7 separate regions of the Homo sapiens genome follow, and all the other regions are linked to region 3. The links are contacts of gene promoters, found by promoter capture Hi-C in blood cells and fetal thymus (Javierre and others, 2016). All regions are on one chromosome and are shown on one strand. The core of a region is centred on a gene start or on the middle of the fragment in contact, and the rest is flanking DNA. Distances in the headings are between cores, read along the strand shown.

The links. The method cuts DNA at HindIII sites, captures the fragments that hold promoters and counts their contacts. A CHiCAGO score of 5 or more calls a contact.
Region 1: a fragment that was not itself captured here is called in contact with the fragment with the promoter of TMEM176B in region 3 in 4 of 17 cell types (total CD4 T cells, naive CD4 T cells, fetal thymus and 1 more); the score reaches 6.4 in total CD4 T cells.
Region 2: a contact is called between a fragment that was not itself captured here and the fragment with the promoter of TMEM176B in region 3, in 11 of 17 cell types (non-activated CD4 T cells, naive CD4 T cells, total CD8 T cells and 8 more). The highest score is 11.4, in non-activated CD4 T cells.
Region 4: a contact is called between a fragment that was not itself captured here and the fragment with the promoter of TMEM176B in region 3, in 1 of 17 cell types (monocytes). The highest score is 5.7, in monocytes.
Region 5: the fragment with the promoter of REPIN1 here is called in contact with the fragment with the promoter of TMEM176B in region 3 in 8 of 17 cell types (monocytes, total CD8 T cells, naive CD8 T cells and 5 more); the score reaches 10.4 in monocytes.
Region 6: a contact is called between a fragment that was not itself captured here and the fragment with the promoter of TMEM176B in region 3, in 4 of 17 cell types (monocytes, M1 macrophages, M0 macrophages and 1 more). The highest score is 7.2, in monocytes.
Region 7: a contact is called between a fragment that was not itself captured here and the fragment with the promoter of TMEM176B in region 3, in 6 of 17 cell types (naive CD8 T cells, non-activated CD4 T cells, activated CD4 T cells and 3 more). The highest score is 7.3, in naive CD8 T cells.

Annotation. Positions count from the first base shown.
Region 1 is chr7:150,307,185-150,309,884 of GRCh38, reverse strand. The region is part of intron 1 of ACTR3C (actin related protein 3C); the gene reads left to right. It also overlaps a transcript of LRRC61 not described here. Among named protein-coding and RNA genes, the nearest start is that of LRRC61, 15 kb to the left of the region's middle. The HindIII fragment of the contact is 1,582 bases long and covers 658-2,239 here.
Region 2 is chr7:150,431,773-150,434,472 of GRCh38, reverse strand. It overlaps LINC00996 (long intergenic non-protein coding RNA 996), which reads right to left and starts at 819. Exons shown (of 4, transcript NR_034033.1): 1 at 644-819. RefSeq lists an enhancer at 579-678. The HindIII fragment of the contact is 2,700 bases long and covers 23-2,700 here.
Region 3 is chr7:150,799,114-150,801,813 of GRCh38, reverse strand. TMEM176B (transmembrane protein 176B) reads left to right here and starts at 1,450. Exons shown (of 7, transcript NM_001101312.2): 1 at 1,450-1,516. TMEM176A (transmembrane protein 176A) reads right to left here and starts at 1,045. Exons shown (of 7, transcript NM_018487.3): 1 at 986-1,045; 2 at 90-278. The coding sequence starts at 263. RefSeq lists enhancers at 354-1,053, 1,054-1,753, 1,754-2,453. The HindIII fragment of the contact is 5,518 bases long and covers 1-2,700 here.
Region 4 is chr7:150,505,725-150,508,424 of GRCh38, reverse strand. No RefSeq gene overlaps it. Among named protein-coding and RNA genes, the nearest start is that of GIMAP7, 7.8 kb to the left of the region's middle. The HindIII fragment of the contact is 4,149 bases long and covers 1-2,700 here.
Region 5 is chr7:150,367,393-150,370,092 of GRCh38, reverse strand. It overlaps REPIN1 (replication initiator 1), which reads right to left and starts at 1,271. Exons shown (of 3, transcript NM_001099695.2): 1 at 1,152-1,271; 2 at 225-422. The coding sequence starts at 381. The region is part of intron 3 of REPIN1-AS1 (REPIN1 antisense RNA 1); the gene reads left to right. RefSeq lists enhancers at 1-87, 88-893, 894-1,698, 1,738-1,797 and silencers at 358-507, 1,018-1,487. The HindIII fragment of the contact is 10,402 bases long and covers 1-2,700 here.
Region 6 is chr7:150,452,108-150,454,807 of GRCh38, reverse strand. The region is part of intron 1 of GIMAP8 (GTPase, IMAP family member 8); the gene reads right to left. Among named protein-coding and RNA genes, the nearest start is that of GIMAP8, 2.8 kb to the right of the region's middle. The HindIII fragment of the contact is 4,164 bases long and covers 1-2,700 here.
Region 7 is chr7:150,348,920-150,351,619 of GRCh38, reverse strand. The region is part of intron 2 of LOC107986858 (a long non-coding RNA gene); the gene reads right to left. Among named protein-coding and RNA genes, the nearest start is that of RARRES2, 8.6 kb to the right of the region's middle. The HindIII fragment of the contact is 7,789 bases long and covers 1-2,700 here.

The DNA of each region.
Region 1 (2,700 bases), core at 199-2,698, 490 kb after region 3:
TACCCGAAGCTCGGCGTCCATGATGGTCCAGGGGGCTTTCCCAGGTGATCGGGCAGCATCAGTCTTCAGCCGCAAAGCCGAGATCTGAGAAGCAGTCAGCCAGAGAGCTTTGATCCAGAGCTCCAGGGGCCCTAGAAGTGGCTGTGATATTAGTTGGACAGTCCGATTTCCAGTGGGGTCCCGCACAGGTGGGACACGGCTTAGGAAGAATCCTGGGCTGTGGGCATTTCTTGGTCTAGTGGCCAGTTTTGCGGCACTTGAATCAAGGTCCATGAGGAGGATTTAAAGGAGTAGCTGGAGGCTGTGGTTTGGTTGTTCTGAAGTTTTTGTGTGCTGAAGGCATGGCTGGGGTTTGTCTTACAGCAGGCGCAAGCAGTTGCAGCTCTGAAATGCGTTGCCGCTTGGCTGCCTCTTTATTGTTGAACACCTTGAAGGCGAGGTTGATTAATTCCTGTTGTGGGGTTTGAGGGCCAGATTCCAATTTTTGAAGCTTTTTTCTAATGTCAGGAGCTGACTGGGTGATAAAACACATATTGAGAATAAGATGGCCTTCTGGCCCTCGAGGGTCTAGGGCTGTAAAGCGTCTAAGGGTAGCCACCAAGCGGGCCAAGAACTGGGCTGGGTTTTCATCTTTACCTTGAGTGGCTTCTTTAAGCTTGTCATAACTAACAGCTTTGTATGCTGCCTTTTTTAGCCCTTCAACTAGGCAAGAGACCATGTAATCTCACCTAGCTATACCTGGGAAGCCTGTCTGGTATTCCCTTTGGGGATCATCTCGGGGAACTGCCCTGATGCCTTCTTGGAGGTCTGGCTCACGATGCAAGCAGGTGTCAGTGTGAGAATGGGCTAGGGTATAAACTCTTTCCCGCTCATCTGGGGAGACGGGAGAGGTCAGGATGACATTTAAATCACTCCAGGTTAAATTGTAGGACTGAGTCAAATATTGGAATTCTTGTATATATTTAGTGGGGTCTGATGAGAAAGAGCCCAGATGCTGACTGATTTGGAAAAGGTCTGATAGAGAAAAAGGTACATGAACCCTTACTGTGCCCTCAGCTCCAGCCACCTCTCTAAGAGGAAACTGTTGGGCAGGTGGGAGGAGAGCTAGTCATGGAATGAAACTGTAAGCCAGACTGAGTGTGAGGAGGGGAGGTGATAGAAGAATTATAAGGTGGGGGAGCAGAGGCTGAGGAGGAATTGGGACTTGATTCAGCCTGTCAAGGAGTGGCCTGGGGAGGGGGAGAGAGGTCAGAGGGGTCTGCAGAAAAGGAGGATTCAGAAGACTCTGAGGTTGGGGTAGAGACTGAAGAAGCGGACAGGAGAGAAAGAAGAAGGATTTGGGATGAGCTGCATTGGGAGCAGAGGCTAGGGAGGGAACGAAGTATAAAAAATGCCTGGACGTAAGGCACCTCAGACCATTTGCCCATTTTTCGACAAAATTTATCTAGGTCTTGTGGGATGGAGAAATCGAAAGTGCCGTTTTCTGGCCACTTGGAACCATTGTCGAGCTTGTATTGGGGCCAAGCGGAGTTGCAGAAGAAAATAAGACTCTTAGGTTTTAGGTCAGGTGAGAGTTTAAGAGGTTTTAAGTTTTTAAGAACACAGGCTAAGGCGGAAGAAGGAGGAATGGAGGGTGGAAGGTTGCCCATAGGAAAAAGGTAAGTTCCAAGAAAAGAGGGGGTAGAGACTCGAAGAGAGGGGGGTGGTACTTGCCACCCAGGGGAGGTTGTACTTGCCACCAAGGTGGAGGATCAAAGCAGGTGTCCCCGCAGTGATTAAACACTTCTGGAATGCGGGTGAATAATCAGGCAGGCGTCCCCGCAGTGATTAGACACCAAGGAAAGACTGTCTTCCCGAGTCTGTGACCAGCTCCAGAGTTTGGAGTCCACAGATAAAACGTGTCTTCTCTGTCTCTACCAGAAAGCAAAAGGAAATGAAGGGAAGGGAGAGATTGAAGGGTGACGTGGAAATTGAAAGGAGAAAGAGGTTGAGGGATAGCGACAGAGGTTAGAGAAGAGAATAAAAAGAGGCCACTTACCCAATTTAAAATTGGTGAGGTGTTTTGTTTGGGCTGGTCTGAGGACCTGAGGTTGTAAGTGGATTTTCTCATGGAGCAAAGAGCAGGAGGACAGGCGATTGATCTCTGGAGGGAGGTCCCCCGAACCAAGTCATGGCACCAAATGTCAAGCGCCTCTGTGTGAAGAGACCACCTAACAGGCTTTGTGTGAGCAATAAAGCTTTTTAATCACCTGGGTGCAGGCGGACTGAGTCTGAAAAAGGCGTCGAAGGGAGATGGGGAAGGGGTTGCTTTATAGGAGTTGGGTAGGTAATGAAAAATTACAGTAAAAGGTGGTTATTTATTGTTAGCAGAGGAGGGGGTCACAAGGTACATGGTGGGGAGATCATAAGTCTTATTGTCCAGAAGAAGAATTTCACAAGGTCGACTGATCAGTTAAGGTAGGGCAGGGACAAGTCACAATGGTGGCATGTAATGTTGGTTAATCAGTTAAGGCAGGAACTGGCTGTTTTACTTCTTTTGTGGTTTTTTGGCTGCACCAGACTTCTTGGCTCCTGCAGGCCATCTGGATGTACATGTGCAGGTCACAGAGGTTACAATGGGTGAGCTTCGGCTCAGAGGCCTGACATGAACCAAATCAATGTACATCTTACATGTATTTGATTGATATTTCCTATCTCCCT
Region 2 (2,700 bases), core at 123-2,622, 370 kb after region 3:
CTTCCTTGTGCCCTTAAAAGCTTCCCCTTGCCTCAGCCTCCTGGATGCGCCCATGGCTGCTGTGGCACGGGCACTCCGCATCACAATCATGCTGCTCATTTCCAAATAAATTCATCATCTTTGGAGAATCGCTTCTGTTTGTTATTTAGGTTGATAATTCTTCAAAAAAAAAAGTCTATGACTTCAGTGACAAAGAGGGAAGCTGGGAGGTCGGGAGGAAGGTGTGTTAGGAAGAATGTGTCTGACTCTGTGGTTAGTTGGGGTGGGGACCCTTCAGCCTCCTGAGTAGGAGCGGCAGGCCTGGGAACAGGGGAGTCTCCTTCCTAGGTCCTATTGCCTAGGCCCACATGATGCCTACCTGAGGCATATGCACAAAGAAAAAGTCCTTAAAATTTTGTTTTTCTCTAGAACAACCTACAGTCCTAGGGACAGACACACCATCCTCCTAAGTCCTATCACACCCTGGAAAATTGTAACAAAAAGGTGACAGTCTCCTTGGGGCATTGCCTGCAGCCTTAGCTAGGGGCCATCCTAGTTATCTCAATTACTCATCCAATTTGTGATCAGCCCTAAGTTCTGGCTCACTCTAGCTCTCTCCTTCGACTTCCTCATCTCCCAAATGGAAGTGACTACCCCGACCTACCAGGCTGTTGTGGGAACCGAACGATGTGGCAGAGAGTCCAGCTCAGCTTCCTACCGTTCCACGAGGGCCACTGAAAGGCCAGTCCTCTTCAGCCTGCAATGAGAGAGATTGAAAGTGGAAGCAGGTCTAAGCTCACAGAATCAGGAAGAAGGTAGAATGCTGAATACACTTCTTCCTCCAATCCCAAATGCTAGAACTGTGTTTCTATCGAAGTTTTGTCATCGACTTTTTAGAATCAGAAAAATGATTAAGAAACATGAGCTGAGATATGCAGGTTCCTTGAGCAAATAGGATTTTGTACAGCAGACACCTCCTGGTGTCTCATTTCCTGAGATCCCCAAAGTGAGAGATAAGAAAGCTGTGGCCGCAGCAGAGACTTGAAACAGTGACCAGAGACCAACTCTTCCACAGGAAGGTGTCTGCACAGAAGACTCACAGGGGCAGCTGACAAAGATCTGTCTATAGCCTGGTCCACAATAAAGATCAGGGGTTGGACAGGGTGAGACACCCAACACGGTGGCTGGAGCCACCCCCTGTAACTATCAACAAACTTGCAGCCCAAGGTCGAGCACAAATAAGTGGGCACAGAAAGACACTTCAGGACACGAGCTACAGAGAGGCAGCCACCTGGCCATCCTCCAGCTGCCTGAGGTTTGCAGATGCCCTTGATGCCACCCCCTATCCCTCCCAAGCACTCTCCTCTCCGTGCACACAGATGCTTAACAAGAGCACCTATGACTCTCCACAGACCAGAGCACCAGGGACACAGTGCCCCTGGGAGATGCTGCCACCAAGGCCAGATGGAAAGAACACCCCTGTGTTCTTGCTCCATGGTTGGCATCTGAGACGTACCTGCCAGGGTTCCCCAGCAGGATCAAGCTCAGTGGCCCAAAGTGGAAATGAACTTACCAGTCATCCTCCAGTGGCCTCCTCTCTTTCTCACTTTCCCACTCCCCCACCAGGGTTTCTCGGGATCCACTCTCAAATAAACTACTTGCCCTTGAATCCTTAATTCAGGGGGAGTCAAAACAAAGACGACCAATCAGAGACAAATATTAACCATAATGATGTCTATTACTCAGATAGGATTGAAATCAACTCAGAAGGGCAGGAATGTGTGAAATCTTCTCCCTTTCCCTTCTCTGCTGAGTAATTGACTCTCATGCCCTAGAGCCTTCTCTACCCCTCTGTAAGCACGTGGATTCAAAACTGAATGTCCAAGTTCAAACCCAACTCCCCACAACCCAACGTTCCCAAGTCATCTAGGGAAATTTGCTTCACCTCTTCAAGTCTCCATTTCTCCAATGTTAAGACAGGAGAGTCTCAGACAGTTCACAGCGACCAACCCACCCCTACTCGGCCACCACCCACATAACATCTTACTGGGAGATTTCTCCCATTGAGTTCAAGTTCATAGCTGGAGAATATGGAAACTGCACACTCACCATGGAAGATAACACCAAGAAGTCTTTGTCTTTCCTGTCTTCTGCTTTCATCATCTGCCCCCTCCCACCAGACTGTGTTTCTCCATGACACCCTGTAGTTTGGCCACAGCCAAGCGGATCTGAAGACCATTGCCTCCAGAAGTTGGCATGACGATTCTAAGTTCTCCAGGTGGGAGAAGGAGGGGGATTTACTTATGTTTTTAAATGTTCTAGGACTTGTGTGTCCTGTTGAACTCCAAGATCTGTGGAAAAGGGAGTCACAAGAAAGACAAAATTCTCATAGTCCAGCTTCACAGGCACAGAAGGGCCTCAGCACCACCATGGAGCAGGCCCAGACACAGGGCTGAAGTGGGAGCTGGAGTCTCCCCAGCACCTAAGCAAAGCCTCTCTTCCCCACAGCTCAAGGTTCCAACAGCCCCTCCTTCTCACTCCTTTTCCCCCTTCAAGTCTTCCAAGTATGCACTCCAGACTGGTGTTGGTATTGAGTGTGGGCCGATGAAGGGAGAGTGGGGTGACAGAGTTGGTCTGTCCCTTTTCAATAACTGCCAAGAGGACTGTTGATGTTCTCTCTAGAATGTGAGGTACTTGACTGTCCTCGACTTTGAATAGAAT
Region 3 (2,700 bases), core at 201-2,700:
TGTTCAGAGGGAGGCTGGCAGAGAGTGCTGCTGCGGCTGGAGGTGGGGAGTTCCTCCCGCCGCCCGACGAGGCAGGCCGTCACACTCACCCACGAGGCCACCAGCAGCCGGCTGCTGCCCCTGGCCTGGGTGGCCCGGGGCCGCAGCGCAGAGCAGCAGGTGAGCAGGAGCTTGGCCAGGGCAGACTCCTGGTGGATGTGCACATCGATGTGGGTGTGCTGTGGGGCCTCCGGGGCCATCTCATCACTGTCGGCTGTTCCCATTGTCAGGGACACAGTCTATGAGGAAGGGAGCACCAGAGAGGAACGGCTGTCAGAAGATTTTCGCAGATTTCATTGGAGTTGGGGAGGTCAGGGGCCAGTGGTGGCTCAAAGTCACCCAATGAATGGCTGTCCTGGTCACAGGGCCGCACCCCTGGCCCCTCACGAGGGGAATGTGTGTAGCAGAGGGGGTGCTGACCATGCTGGAACTGCGGCGACTACAGAGCCTGCGGGAACCTCCCCTTTCGCCCAAGATCTGCTCTGTCCCCCTCATCCTCCTCCCAGGGCCCTGGCGTCTGGGTCAAGCAGCGCCCCACACCTCGACCCCTCACCCCCTCCTCCCGGGCTCTTCCTGCGGCCTCCCCTCCACAGTCCGCAGGCTCTGGGACAGGACCGAGTCCTTGGCTGCCTGTGGAGCTCCTGTGCCAGCAGCTGCGCCCCGGCTGCGCTCCGGATACCCCCATCCCCGCCACCGCCGACCTCCCGCTCCACCGACTGCTGCTCACGCCCGACGGGTTCACGCCGCCCCTGCCCCGTGAAGGACCGCGCTGCGGTGCGGAGGTAGGTCAAAAGCCGGGGCCGCACCTGGCTTCCTCTGCAGTCCCCTTCCTGGAGTGTCATCCCTGGGTGGGGGTCCCTCCTACGCTCCTCCAACTGTGCGGAGGCAGCTCGGGGTGCGTGCGGAAGGAGGCCCGGGGGCCGCCGGGAGTGGGGTGCCGCCTCACCTGCGCTCCTCGGGACCTGCGAGCGGGCGGCGGGAGGGCTGGGGCGCTGGCTGGAGAAGTGGGTTGAGAGTTGGAGGGGGAGGCGGGGAGGGGAGGCGGGGGTGGGGCTGAACTTCAGCCCCTCGGGTTCATGACAGGCTGCAGGGCCTGGGGTCCGTCTGGGGTTCTCCTGCTGCGCGAGGGTCACTGGGCTCTGGGGAGCTGGGAGGGTCCGCGGGCGGACGGCCCTGGGAAAGCCCGTGGGGTCGTTCTCGCCTCCAGCCCCGCCCGGCCAGGGCCGGCGTGCAAGTGTGCGCGAGTGGGAGCGCAGGGGGCGCGCGGGGGCTCGGTCTTCTCCCGCCCGGTCCGCTCCTCCGGGCGGAACCCCCTTTGCCGGGCCCCCGGGCCGCAGCTGGTTTCGGGAAACCGCGCAGCCTGGGCGGGGCCGCAGCCCCCACCCGTGCATCTGCCGTCTCCGCCCTCCCGTCGCTCCCCTGCTCGGGGTCAGCTAGTGTCCGCTCTGCTCGGCCGCGGGCTCCCGGAGGACTGCAGGTGAGGCAGGGCCTCCGCGGCCCGGGAGACCCTCTTGCCGCAGGACCCTCTGTCACGAGGAGTCCCCAGGGCCATGCCCCCACCCCGTCCTGTCCACAGGACGTCTTTCTTCCTCCAACCTGGTTTCCAGGAGGACTCACGTAGGAGGGAGGGACAGCTGGGTGCAGGTGTTTCTCCCCAGAAAAACGGCTGGAGAGCGGGAGGAGAGGCCTGGGGCTGGCGCGTCCCGTCCACCTTCTGCCGCCTGCACGCCTGGACCCTGGCTGGAGCCCTACGGTGGGGTGGCTCCTGGGACGGGGCCAGGGAGCGGCGGGGCTGCCGGACGCTTTCCCCAGCCCCGGGGCACGGGAAGAGCTGGACAGAGGAAAGTGTTCGGGGCAGCCGGGAAGAGCCCACCACCTACCAGGCGTCGGGCGGCCCGCAGGGGAATCTCCGTGGTGCCGGCCTGGTTCAGATCCGACTCTTCAGGCGGGGGCGAGGCAGATCTAGGGGTTGGCGTGGGGCGGGGGAAGCGGTGGTCCTGGGGGCCCGGAGGTAGCTGGAACCCGAGGTGCCCTCAGGGCGAGGCCTGGGCCGTCAAGGGAAGGTCTGGCTGGAATCTGGGGCTGGGCTGGAAGCAGTCTGAAGCTCCTTTGTACGTGTGCGGAATTGTCTAACTCCTGTCCTTTCTAACCCCAAGGAGGCCAGGTGGGTGAAAGAGTGAAACTGCTTTGAAAAGTAGGTAGAGTACGAATGGGAGGTGTTATTAGAATTGTTAATAATATTTGATTTAAACTGTGATACTTAGCCAGGATGTCCATTAGAATTGCCTATGCAGGATTTATTTTAGAGCCAGGCAAGCTGATTCTAAAGTGCATGTGAAGAAGTAGTCTAGCAAAAATGGCCATGACAATTCTGAAAGAAAAACCACACGAGGGGATCATGAAACAGCCCAATTAGCATTAAGCTCCATGTTAAAATTGTGGTAATGATGCCTAGCCCATGAGACATGCCAATGGGCAGAATATAAGGACTAGAATAGGCCTACATTCCTAGGGGAACTTCATTTCTGCTCAGGAGAGAATTTTAAATCACTGAGAAAAAGAGGATGTATTTTCCGCAAATGGAACGTATCTTTCAGAAGTTAAACATCTGAATGACAGCAACAGAACTTGGATCCGTGTCTCCCAACGGCGAAGGTTGGT
Region 4 (2,700 bases), core at 147-2,646, 290 kb after region 3:
TCTGCTAATAAGGCACAGTCCTTTCTTGGAATTGGAGGCTGAGGCTGTCTGCAGTGCATAGGTAACATGAGGTAAGTGCTTTCCAAGCCCGCCAACTCTGTCTCTCCCTTTAGGGCCTTCAGTTCTATTTATGTATCTGGACACCTATGATGTGAAATTGTATAATACGTGAGCTTAAGGAGACCAAACCACGATCCTGGGACTGACATCAAGAGTATTACCATTACCATTACTATTGCTGACACCACTGCTACTAGCTGACACTTGCTGATCACTTACTGTATGCTGAGTACCCTTCTCACCCCTTTATAGATACTACAGGCACACCTCAGAGATATTGCAAGTTCAATGCCAGCAACTGCAATAAAGCAAATGTAACTATAAAAAGAGCCACATGAATTTTTTGGTTTCTCAGGGCATATAAAAGTTATGTTTATACTACACCGTAATCTATTACATGTGCAATAGCATTATGTCTAGAAAACAATATATGCGCTTTAATTTAAAAATACTTTATTGCTAAAAGATGCTAACAATCCTCCGAGCCTTCAGTGAGTCATAATCTTTCTGCTGGTGGAGGGTCTTGCCTCAGTATTGATAGCTGCTGATTGATCAAGATGGTGATTGCTGAAGGCTGGGGTGGCTGTAGCAATTTCCTAAACTAAGATAACAATGAGGTTTGTCACATAGAATGACTCTTCCTCTCACAAAATGTTTCTCTGTAGCATGTGTGATGCTGTTTGATCGCATTTTAAGCATAGTAGAACTTGTTTCAAAATTGAAGTCAATCTTCTCAAACCCTGCTGCTGTTTATCAAGTTTATTTAATATTCTAAATCCTTTGTTGTCATTTCATAATGTTCACAGCATCTTCGCCAAAAGTAGTTTTTTTTTTTTTGAGATGAAGAAGGAGATTTTATTTATTTTTTATTTCAATAGGTTTTGGGGGGTTGGGTAGTGTTTGGTTACAGGGATAGGTTCTGTAGTGGTGATTTCTGAGATTTTGGTGCCATCACCTGAGCAGTGTACACTGTGCCCAGTGTGTAGGCTTTTATTCTTCACCTCCCTCCCACCCTTTCCCCAAGTCCCCAAAGTCCATTGTATCATTCTTATGCCTTTTCATTCTCATAGTGTCATTTCCATCTCAAGAAATCAGTTTCTTTTCTCATCCATAAGAAGCAGCTCCTCATCCATTCAAGTTTTATCATGAGATTGCAGCAATTCAGTCACATCTTCAGCCTACATTCTTCTTTTGTTGTTGTTAGAGACAGGGTCTCACTCTGTCACCCAGGCTTGAGTACAGTAGTGTGATCATAGCTCACTGCAGCCTTGAGCTCCTGGGCTCAAGTGATGCTCACACCTCAGCCTCCCAAGCAGCTGGGACTACAGGCACACACCACCATGTCTTACTAATTATTTTTTTTTTTGTTGAGACAGGATCTCACTGTGTTGCCCAGTGTGGTCTCAAACTCCTAGTTTCAAGTGATCCTCCTGCCTTGGCCTCCCAAAGTGCTAGGATTACAGGCATGAACCAACACACCTGGCCTCCACTTCTAATTCTACTTCTCTTGCTACCTCCACCACATCTGTAGTGATTCCCTCCAATGAAGTCTCGAACCCCTCCAAGTCATCTATGAGGGTTGGAATCAACTTCTTCCAAACTGTTGTTAACATTAATATTTTTATCTCCTCTCATGAATCATGAATGTTGTTAATGGTATCTAGAATGGTGAATCCTTCCCAGAAAGTTTTCAATTTACTTTGCCCAGGTTTATCAGAAGAATCACTATTTATGGCAACTATAGCCTTATAAAATATATTTCTTAAATAATAAGGCTCAAAAGTCAAAATTATCCTTGATCCATGAGCTGCAGAAGGGATGTTGTATTAGCAGGCATGAAATCTCCTTGTATATCTCCATAAGAGATCTTGGGTGACCAAATGCTTTGTCAATGAGCAGTAATATTTTGAATCTTTTTTTCTAAACAGAAGTATCAACAGTGGGCTTAAAATATTCAGTAAGCGGTGGGGGGGTCAGCCCCCCGCCCGGCCCGCCGCCCCGTCCGGGAGGGAGGTGGGGGGGTCAGCCCCCCGCCCGGCCAGCCGCCCCGTCCGGGAGGTGAGGGGCACCTCTGCCCGGCCACCCCTACTGGGAAGTGAGGAGCCCTTCTGCCCGGCCACCACCCCGTCTGGGGTGTACCCAACAGCTCATTGAGAACAGGCCATGATAACAATGGCGGTTTTGTGGAATAGAAAAGGGGGAAAGGTGGGGAAAAGATTGAGAAATCGGATGGTTGCTGTGTCTGTGTAGAAAGAGGTAGACATGGGAGACTTTTCATTTTGTTCTGTACTAAGAAAAATTCTTCTGCCTTGGGATCCTGTTGATCTATGACCTTACCCCCAACCCTGTGCTCTCTGAAACATGTGCTGTGTCCACTCAGGGTTAAATGGATTAAGGGCGGTGCCAGATGTGGTTTGTTAAACAGATGCTTGAAGGCAGCAGGCTCCTTAAGAGTCATCACCACTCCCTAATCTCAAGTACCCAGGGACACAAACACTGCGGAAGGCCGCAGGGTCCTCTGCTTAGGAAAACCAGAGACCTTTGTTCACTTGTTTATCTGCTGACCTTCCCTCCACTATTGTCCTATGACCCTGCCAAATCCCCCTCTGCGAGAAACACCCAAGAATGATCAATAAAAAA
Region 5 (2,700 bases), core at 22-2,521, 430 kb after region 3:
GGCCCTTCTGTGCCTGCTCACAAGCTCCAGACACATCCTTCTAAATTCCCTAGAGCGCACTCTCTCTTCTCAGGGAACACAAAGGTCACTCATTCCCAGTGTCAGACTGTGCACAGGGAAGACCCCAGGATATGAGAAAGGGCCATTTCCTTCCGCCGGGATGGGGACGCCCGTGCACCCCTGTTGTGGCGTGGTTTGGGAGCACAGCAAAGGCCAGACTCTACCCTGGAGACTGCAGAGCTGGGGATGAGGCTTTTTCCAGCTCCTCTTGGGGATGTTCCTGGGGATACTTCCGCGGCTGCAGCGCCTGCTTCGGCCCACACTCCGGTAGCCCCCAGGTGTTAGAGAAAACTGCAGTAATAAAGACACCCCTATCCCCATGGCAGAGCTCAGACCTCTGACTGCAGAGAGGCCAGCCTTACCTGTGGGGAGGGAAGAGAAAACAGAAGTGAGGCTCTGAGCTCCTCTAGGGCAGTCAGCTTTGTGTCCTCACCAGCCACAACCCCTCCCCCCACAAAGCCACACGCACCAGCCATAAGCCCCACATCCTGCCTGGCAGAGTGACCTTAATGGACATTGGATTAATAAATGAATGTGCCCCTTCAACAAGGAAGCACACTGCTGTCTTTCGGGGTCACTTTCTTCCCTGGTAAGGTCACGGAACGAATTCTCCATTCTGTGGCCAGAGTCTGGGCTTTCCCTGATGGCCAAAGGCCGGCCTATGGCAGGAACTCTGGAATCCCTGCTGGCTCCCCTTCCCCCAGCCTCCTCCCGACAGGAATTCCAGGCCTATTTCCCATGGGGCTGCGCAGGGCCAGCTGGTGTGACCACGACTCCGTCAGAATCCCCTTCCGCATCGCGGCTGGCCGCGGGTGGCAGAAGCCCCACACCGCCCTTTTGTACTGATGCGTGTCCTCCGTCCACGCTCCCGGGCACACGGGTCCCGTTCTTGCGAGTGAGCCATTTCGGGTCCCACGCACGGCGCAGCTCGCGGAGCCTGTGCGCAGGTGCGCTCCCCCACCCCCGCAGATCCAGCAGCGTCCCCCCCCGCGCACTCACACACGGTCGCGCACACTCACGGTCACGCGCCCCGCAGGTGGAGCGGCCCCCCGCGGGCCCGCGGTGGCCCCGCGCCCCTGCCCCGGCCGTACCTCTGCGGCGGGCTGTGCAGGGACGCGGCGCCCGTCCATGGAGCCCGAAGGCCGGCCTCCGCGGCCCACTCTCGCTCCCCGCCCCGCCGCGGCGACAGCGGCAGGTTCGAGTTCACAACTGCCAGGCCCGTCCCCAACCTCCCCCCGCCGGGTTCCCAGCGCCACGTGACTACAGGAGCTGCCGAGGGTCAGTCGCCGGCTCCCGCGGCCGCGGCCTGGGGGCGGGGAGGGACTGCCGGGGCCGGGGCGCGGGCGCCCCCGCCAAGAGCGGGCCGGGTCACTCAAGCCACTGCCGCGCCAGGGCGGCAGGCCTCGGAGGGTCGGACTCCGTTGCCATGGCGACCACCAGCCCGGGTTTCTCTGGGACTGGCCGGAGCTCAAGTTTCCCGACCCTTTGTCCCTGCGGAGCACGCGCGTCCCCGGGCGACCGCGTGGCTGGCCTATGGTCACCGGGGTGTTCGGCCTTAGCTGCCTTATGAGAGGCTGGGAGCCCGTCGGGAGACTTCAAAGAGGGCTCCGGCAAGCCCCCGGAGCGTCGTTGCCCGGGCCTTTCTCAGGCCGCGCACCCCGGCCGCAGTGCGGACGCTTGCGGCCGCGGCGGTCCCGGGACGGCGGTGGCGCACCTGGAAGGCCCTAGCTTCCGATTTGTTCCAAAGTGGAGCACAAAAAGGCCCGATCCTGCGAACTTTGAAAAGGCCTCTCTTCACTCTTTTCTAGAAATTAAGAAAGAGCAGAAGTTGCTGGGCTTCCTCTGGCTGCGGGCCAAGCGTGGGGCGACGGCCGAGGTGGCCGTTGGCGCACGTGGGGCATTTCGCTTGGAAAGGCTCAGCAGCCTGTGTGGCGTCTGCGGTGGCAGGTGCGAGCCTGTGCCCATGACTCACCCACTAGCAGGTGGCCCTGGCTTTCCAAACTAAACACTTCCTGGGGTTTCCAGGGTAGTACAATTTCATGTACTTTCATGCTTTTCAACACAGGCAATTTTTGAATTGTATAATTAGTCGTAAAAATACTTTTTAAATCTATTGCATAAATAGGAAATAGGGGAACATAAAACTCAGTTTTACCTCGTAGAGTCAATTACATTTAATATTTTGGTATGTTGCCTCCGGTGTTTTCTCTACGTATATCCATGGCATGTCTGGCATAATTGGAATAATGCCTTGCGAAGATGTATTCTGCCTTCTTCACTTAACACGATCTTGTGAATTTTCTTCCATTTTATTAGATATTCTTTTAAACATGATTATTTATGGCTGTATAAAAGGAATATATTTTTTAAATGTTTTCTAAATTATCTTCCAGGAAAACGTATTAGTTTTCCCTGAGAAATGCCCATTTTCCATATACTTGACAACACAGACTTTTTTAAAAAAAAAATTTAGTTTGAAATGGTTATTTCTCATCTTTTGTACTTGCATTTCTTAGAGTACTAGTTAGCTGGATTGTTTTTTCACATGGTTATTTTTTGCCAGTTTTATTTTCTCTTGTGAATTTGTTTATGTCCATTTGCCCACTTTTCTATTTGCCCATTTTAAAAGTTGGGGAGTTG
Region 6 (2,700 bases), core at 50-2,549, 350 kb after region 3:
CCCAAAAGTAAGTGATTACTAAATTTAAAAATGTATTGAGACATCTACTACCTTTTTATTTCAAATGCTGCATTGTGGCCAGAGAACAATGTCTGTATAAACTATTTGTCATTGGTTGAGATTTGCTTTTTGGCTCAGTGAAATTTTTGTAAGTGTTCCTGTAGGCTCAAAAAGAATGTGCAGCCTGTTACTGTGGTACCTTCCACAATCAAGGCCCCATCTCTCCACTGACACCTTAGCTACAGCTTCCCAGATGGTCCAGCACACCCTTGCCTGCACCCCATCCTCCTGTCTGCCTGGAACGTTCCTACCCATTCTCCATCACTTAGCCCAAGGACTCTGAGGCTCCATGTCAAGCCTTTCCTAACTTTTCCAGATTGAACTGGTCATCAGCTCCTCTTTGGACTTTTGCAGTAATATTAACACTGCTCCCCGGTTTCCACCCTTCTCCAGCTGTCTATTGTCCACCAATAGCCACAGTTCTCCTCTCCTGTTAAAACAAGAGACAGGTAATGTCACGCTTCATTCTAAACCTCCCCCCACCCCCAGTGACTCTCCACCCATTCAAAGTAAAAGGCAAAGCCTTTATAGTGGTCACGAGACCCTACCTTGTGCCCAGCTGCTCTCTGACCTCATCTCCCACCCCCTTCCCCTCACATTGTGTGCCATAGTCACATCAGCCTGCGCTGTACTTCAAACATGCTTGCTGTTCATCTGAACTGGGGCATTGTCCCTTGCAGACATGTGCAAGACATGTGCCTGAGCACTTCCCTTAGGTCTCTATCACACTGTCCCCTTAGTACAGGAGGCCCTCTCCAGCCTCCACCCGCTATTAAAGAGCTGTCCATGCCTCTGTGCCCCACTGACACCCCCACCCCATACCTAGCACCCGCCACTGCCACCCTAAGAGCTGTCCACCCCTCTATGCCCCACGGGCACCCCCGCCCCATACCCAGCACCCACCACTGCCACCCTAAGAGTCGTGACTCCTCTGTGCCCCCCGCCCCGTACCCAACACCCACTACTGTCACCCTTCACATCTGCATTTAGTTGCTTAGTGCTTTTTAGTCTGCCACCACTACAGGTGAGTTCCATGAGAATAAGGACTTGCTCTGTTTTTCTCACCACTGTATCTACAACATAAAGAAAGTATCTGATAAATACTTGTTTCTGAGTTGATGGTTATTGACTTGAAGAACAAGCAAAATGCAGCAGATACGCCGAAGAAAGTGAAGAGTGGGAAAGCCCTTTTTCTGTGCAGCAATTTGGTGGTTCATACCTTTTCAAAAAATGGGGTCTGTGGCACTCAGGGGAGAGGCTGCACTGCAGGGAATGACCCAGGGAGGTAGTAAAGGCAGTGGCAGGGCCCACTTTCGAAAAGGGCGAGGCAAAGCCCACAAGGGCCTTGGCAGAGGCCTCTCTCTGGAATCATCTGGATGGCTGCACGGCACGGGGCAGAGCCCACCGCAGCTTCAGACACCTCAGAACCTCAGAACCGGTCCACCAGGGGAAAAATATTTCCGGTGGGTTCAAACCTAATCAGCACCGGGGATCTTCTAAGAGCATCTTTCACCCAGATACACCCTATGGAGAGAAGCTCTCACACTAATGCCCTATCTCCTCTCTCTCCTCAATTTTCTTCATAACATTGATTCTATCTGATATTATTTATATTTTATAATTATTTATTAATTTTATTTTTAAATGTCTAAATGTTCTCTGTACTACCCTTGGTACAAAGCTCCATAACAGCATGTGCTGAAACTCCAAACATGCCTGTTTTGTTCTGTGTCCCCAGGCCCTAACATTGTGCCTGGCATGTAGTATATGCCCAATACGTGGAGGTAAAGGAATGAACGATCACAGGAGAGACAGAAATGTGAAGAAAAGAAGAAAAACGGTTTTTAGAACTGAGAGGGAGGCCGGGCGCAGTGGCTCACGCCTGTAACCCCAACACTTTCAGAGGCCAAGGCAGGTAGATCCCTCGAGATCAGGAGTTTGAGACCAGCCTGGTCAACATGATGAAATCCCCGTCTTTATTAAAAGTACAAAAATTAGCCAGGCATGGTGGTGGGTGCCTGTAGTTCCACTCGCATGTATATATATATATATATATATATATATATATATATCTCACACACACACACACACACATATACACACATATATATACATATATACACATATATACATATATACATACATATATACATATATATACATATATACATACACACACACATATATATGCAAGTGAAGTGAGATGTCTCTGTAAATTAATTTAAGAAAAAAAGACACTAGTGAGAAAACAGCAAGCTGAAGGAAGCAGAGGCCTCCCACAGGTCTGAAGAAGAAAGAAATTTCTTTCCCAATTAAGCGACACAGCCTTGCATGGTTCCCCAGCAGAGTATGACCAAACCAATGAGTCTTGGCTGGACTCCTGCCTGCAGCTCCACATGATGTCAGGACCTACACACACACACCCACATACACACACGCACATGCACACTCCTACCACACATACAGCTTCCCAGCCAGTAGCACTTCACCCCAACATGTAGAAAGTGCACTTAAGGACAAAAAGGTACCCAAACTCACCCTCACTCACGCTCTGCCAGCCCACATTTCCCTCTGCTCAATTTCCCAGGCCACTCTGGAGACCCCAGCAGAGCAACTGAGAGAAAAAGAGAGCGTTCTTCC
Region 7 (2,700 bases), core at 197-2,696, 450 kb after region 3:
GTATTATACTTCCCCAGTAAGAAGTTATTAAGCAAACAAATGAATAAAATCCTCAAGTTGTCATCTGGTACATTTAATTTCATTCATCTGGAATTTATTATAGTGTAAAAAGTGAGGCAGGAACCAACATTCATCATTTTCCTCCACAAGGCTAGCCGTATATTCCAACACCGTTTATTGGCTAATGCATCTTTTTCCTAAAGATTTGAAATGCCACCTTTATCACATATTAAATTCCCATATGTATTTGGATTTATGTCTGAGGTTTCTATTCTGTTCCATTTTTTTGTCTATTCATTTGCTAATGTCACTGTTTTCATTTTAGATTATTAATGCATTTTAACATCAAATAGGCTATCTGGACATCTAAGAGGTCAACATTATTTTTATCTTCATACTTCTGTTTATTCTTGCTTGTTTATTTTTCCATATACATGTTAGAATCAATTGTCTTTCCTTGTTAAATTTAAATATTAGTTTAGGAATGATTTACATTTTTATTTATTTTATTTTTTCCTTTTCAGACAGAGTTTCACTCTTGTTGCCCAGACCGGAGTGCAATGGCGTGATCTCAGCTGATCGCAATCTCCACCTTCCAGGTTCAAGCAATTCTCCTGTCTCAGCCTCCCAAATAGCTGGGATTACAGGTATGGGCCACCACACCCGGCTAATTTTGTACTTTTAGTAGAGACAGGGTTTCTCCATGTTGGTCAGGCTGGTCTCCAACTTCCCATCTCAGGCGATCCACTTTTCTTGTTAAATGTATATATTAGTTTAGGAATGATTTACATTTTTATGATTTTTTTTTTTTTTTTTTTTTTTTGCCTTTTGAGACAGAGTTTCAGCCTTGTTGCCCAGACTGGAGTGCAATGGCATGATCTCAGCTCACTGCAACCTGCGCCTGCCAGGTTCAAGCAATTCTCCTGTCTCAGCCTCCCAAAGTGCTGGGATTACAGGTATGAGCCACTGCACCTGGCCACATTTTATGATTTGATTCTATCTATTTAGTCAAGGTTTCTTTCATATACCTTAATATTATGTTAAGTTTTTAAATATTCTTTTTGTTGTTGTTAGTTTTTTTAAATAGTCTTTGTATTTTTTTACTAAGTTCATTCCTAAGAACTTAACCTTTTTTTATTATTGTAAATGGGGTTTTAAAAAACTATATTTTCAGCCAGGCACAGTGGCTCACGCCTGCAACCCCAACACTTTGGGAGGCCAGGGAAGGCAGATCATTTGAGCCCAGGAGTTTGAGACCAGCTTGGGCAACATGGTGAAACTTCATCACTGCACAAAATACAAAAAAAAAAAAAAAATTAGTTGGGCGTGGTGGTGCACACCTGTAGTCCCAGCTATCCGGGAGGCTGAGGTGGGAGGATCACCTGAGCCTGGGAGGTTGAGGCTGCAGTGAGCCATGAACACATCTCACTGCATTCCTGCCTGGGCAACAGAGTGAGACCTTGTCTCAAATATATATATATATATATATATATATATATACATATATTTTTTTTCCAAATATATTCATGTTAGAAAACCTACTGATTTTGTATATTAATCCCATTTCCTATCACTTATTATTTTATTGTTTCCAGTAATTTATTCCTGTTAGTTCTCTTGGATTTGGAAGGTACACAGTCCTACCATTTGCAAATAAGGATACTTTTCTCACTATTTTTCTTTTTTTTTTTTTTTGAGACGGAGTCTTGCTCTGTCTCCCAGGCTGGAGTGCAACGGCACGATCTTGGCTCACTGCAAGCTCCGCCCCCTGGGTTCACGCCATTCTCCTGCCTCATCCTCCCAAGTAGCTGGGACTACAGGCACCCGCCACCACGCCCAGCTAATTTTTTGTATTTTTAGTAGAGACGGGGTTTCACCATGTTAGCCAGGATGGTCTCGATCTCCTGACCTCATGATCCACCCGCCTCGGCCTCCCAAAGTGCTGGGATTCCAGGCGTGAGACACCGCGCCCGGCCTTTTTCTCACCATTTTTCAAAAGAAATTTTTAATCATTGATTTTTCATGTCTGCCCAATTACACTGGCTAGTGTTTCTTAAAAAATGTAAAATGATAATAGCAATAGAAGACATCCTTTTCTTGATCCTGAATTTGATGAGAATGTTTATTTTTCATCATTAAGTATGTTATACATACATATAATCATGTTAAGAAGGTACTCATAATCTATCTTATCAAGAGCTTTTATTTTTTAATTAGCAGAGGATATTAAATTTTCTCAAAGGTTTTTTCAGCATCTTTGGCAATTATTACATGGGGTTTTCTCTCCTTGACTGATTAATGTGATATATTAATGGATTTCCTGAATTTCCTCTTTTCTAATTTACATTTTTAGTTTTATTTGTTCTTTCCTTTTCCTTACCATAAGTTTCATTGGTGGTTTTACTAGTTAACAATTAGCTTACTTTCATTTTGTCTTTCATTAGTAAAAAGAAAGGTATTTAATTGTACTTCTCAAAATACAGCTCATGGGTTCTAATATATAGTGTTTTCATTAATTTTCTTTGTTTGTTTGTTTATTTGTTTGAGACAGAGTTTCACTCTGTCCCCCAGGCTGGAGTGCAGTGGTGTGATCTCAGCTCACTGCAACCTCCGCCTTCCAGGTTCAAGTGATTCTTCTGCCTCAGCCTCCCAAGTAGCTGAGATTACAGGTGCCCACCACCATGCCTGGCTACATTATTG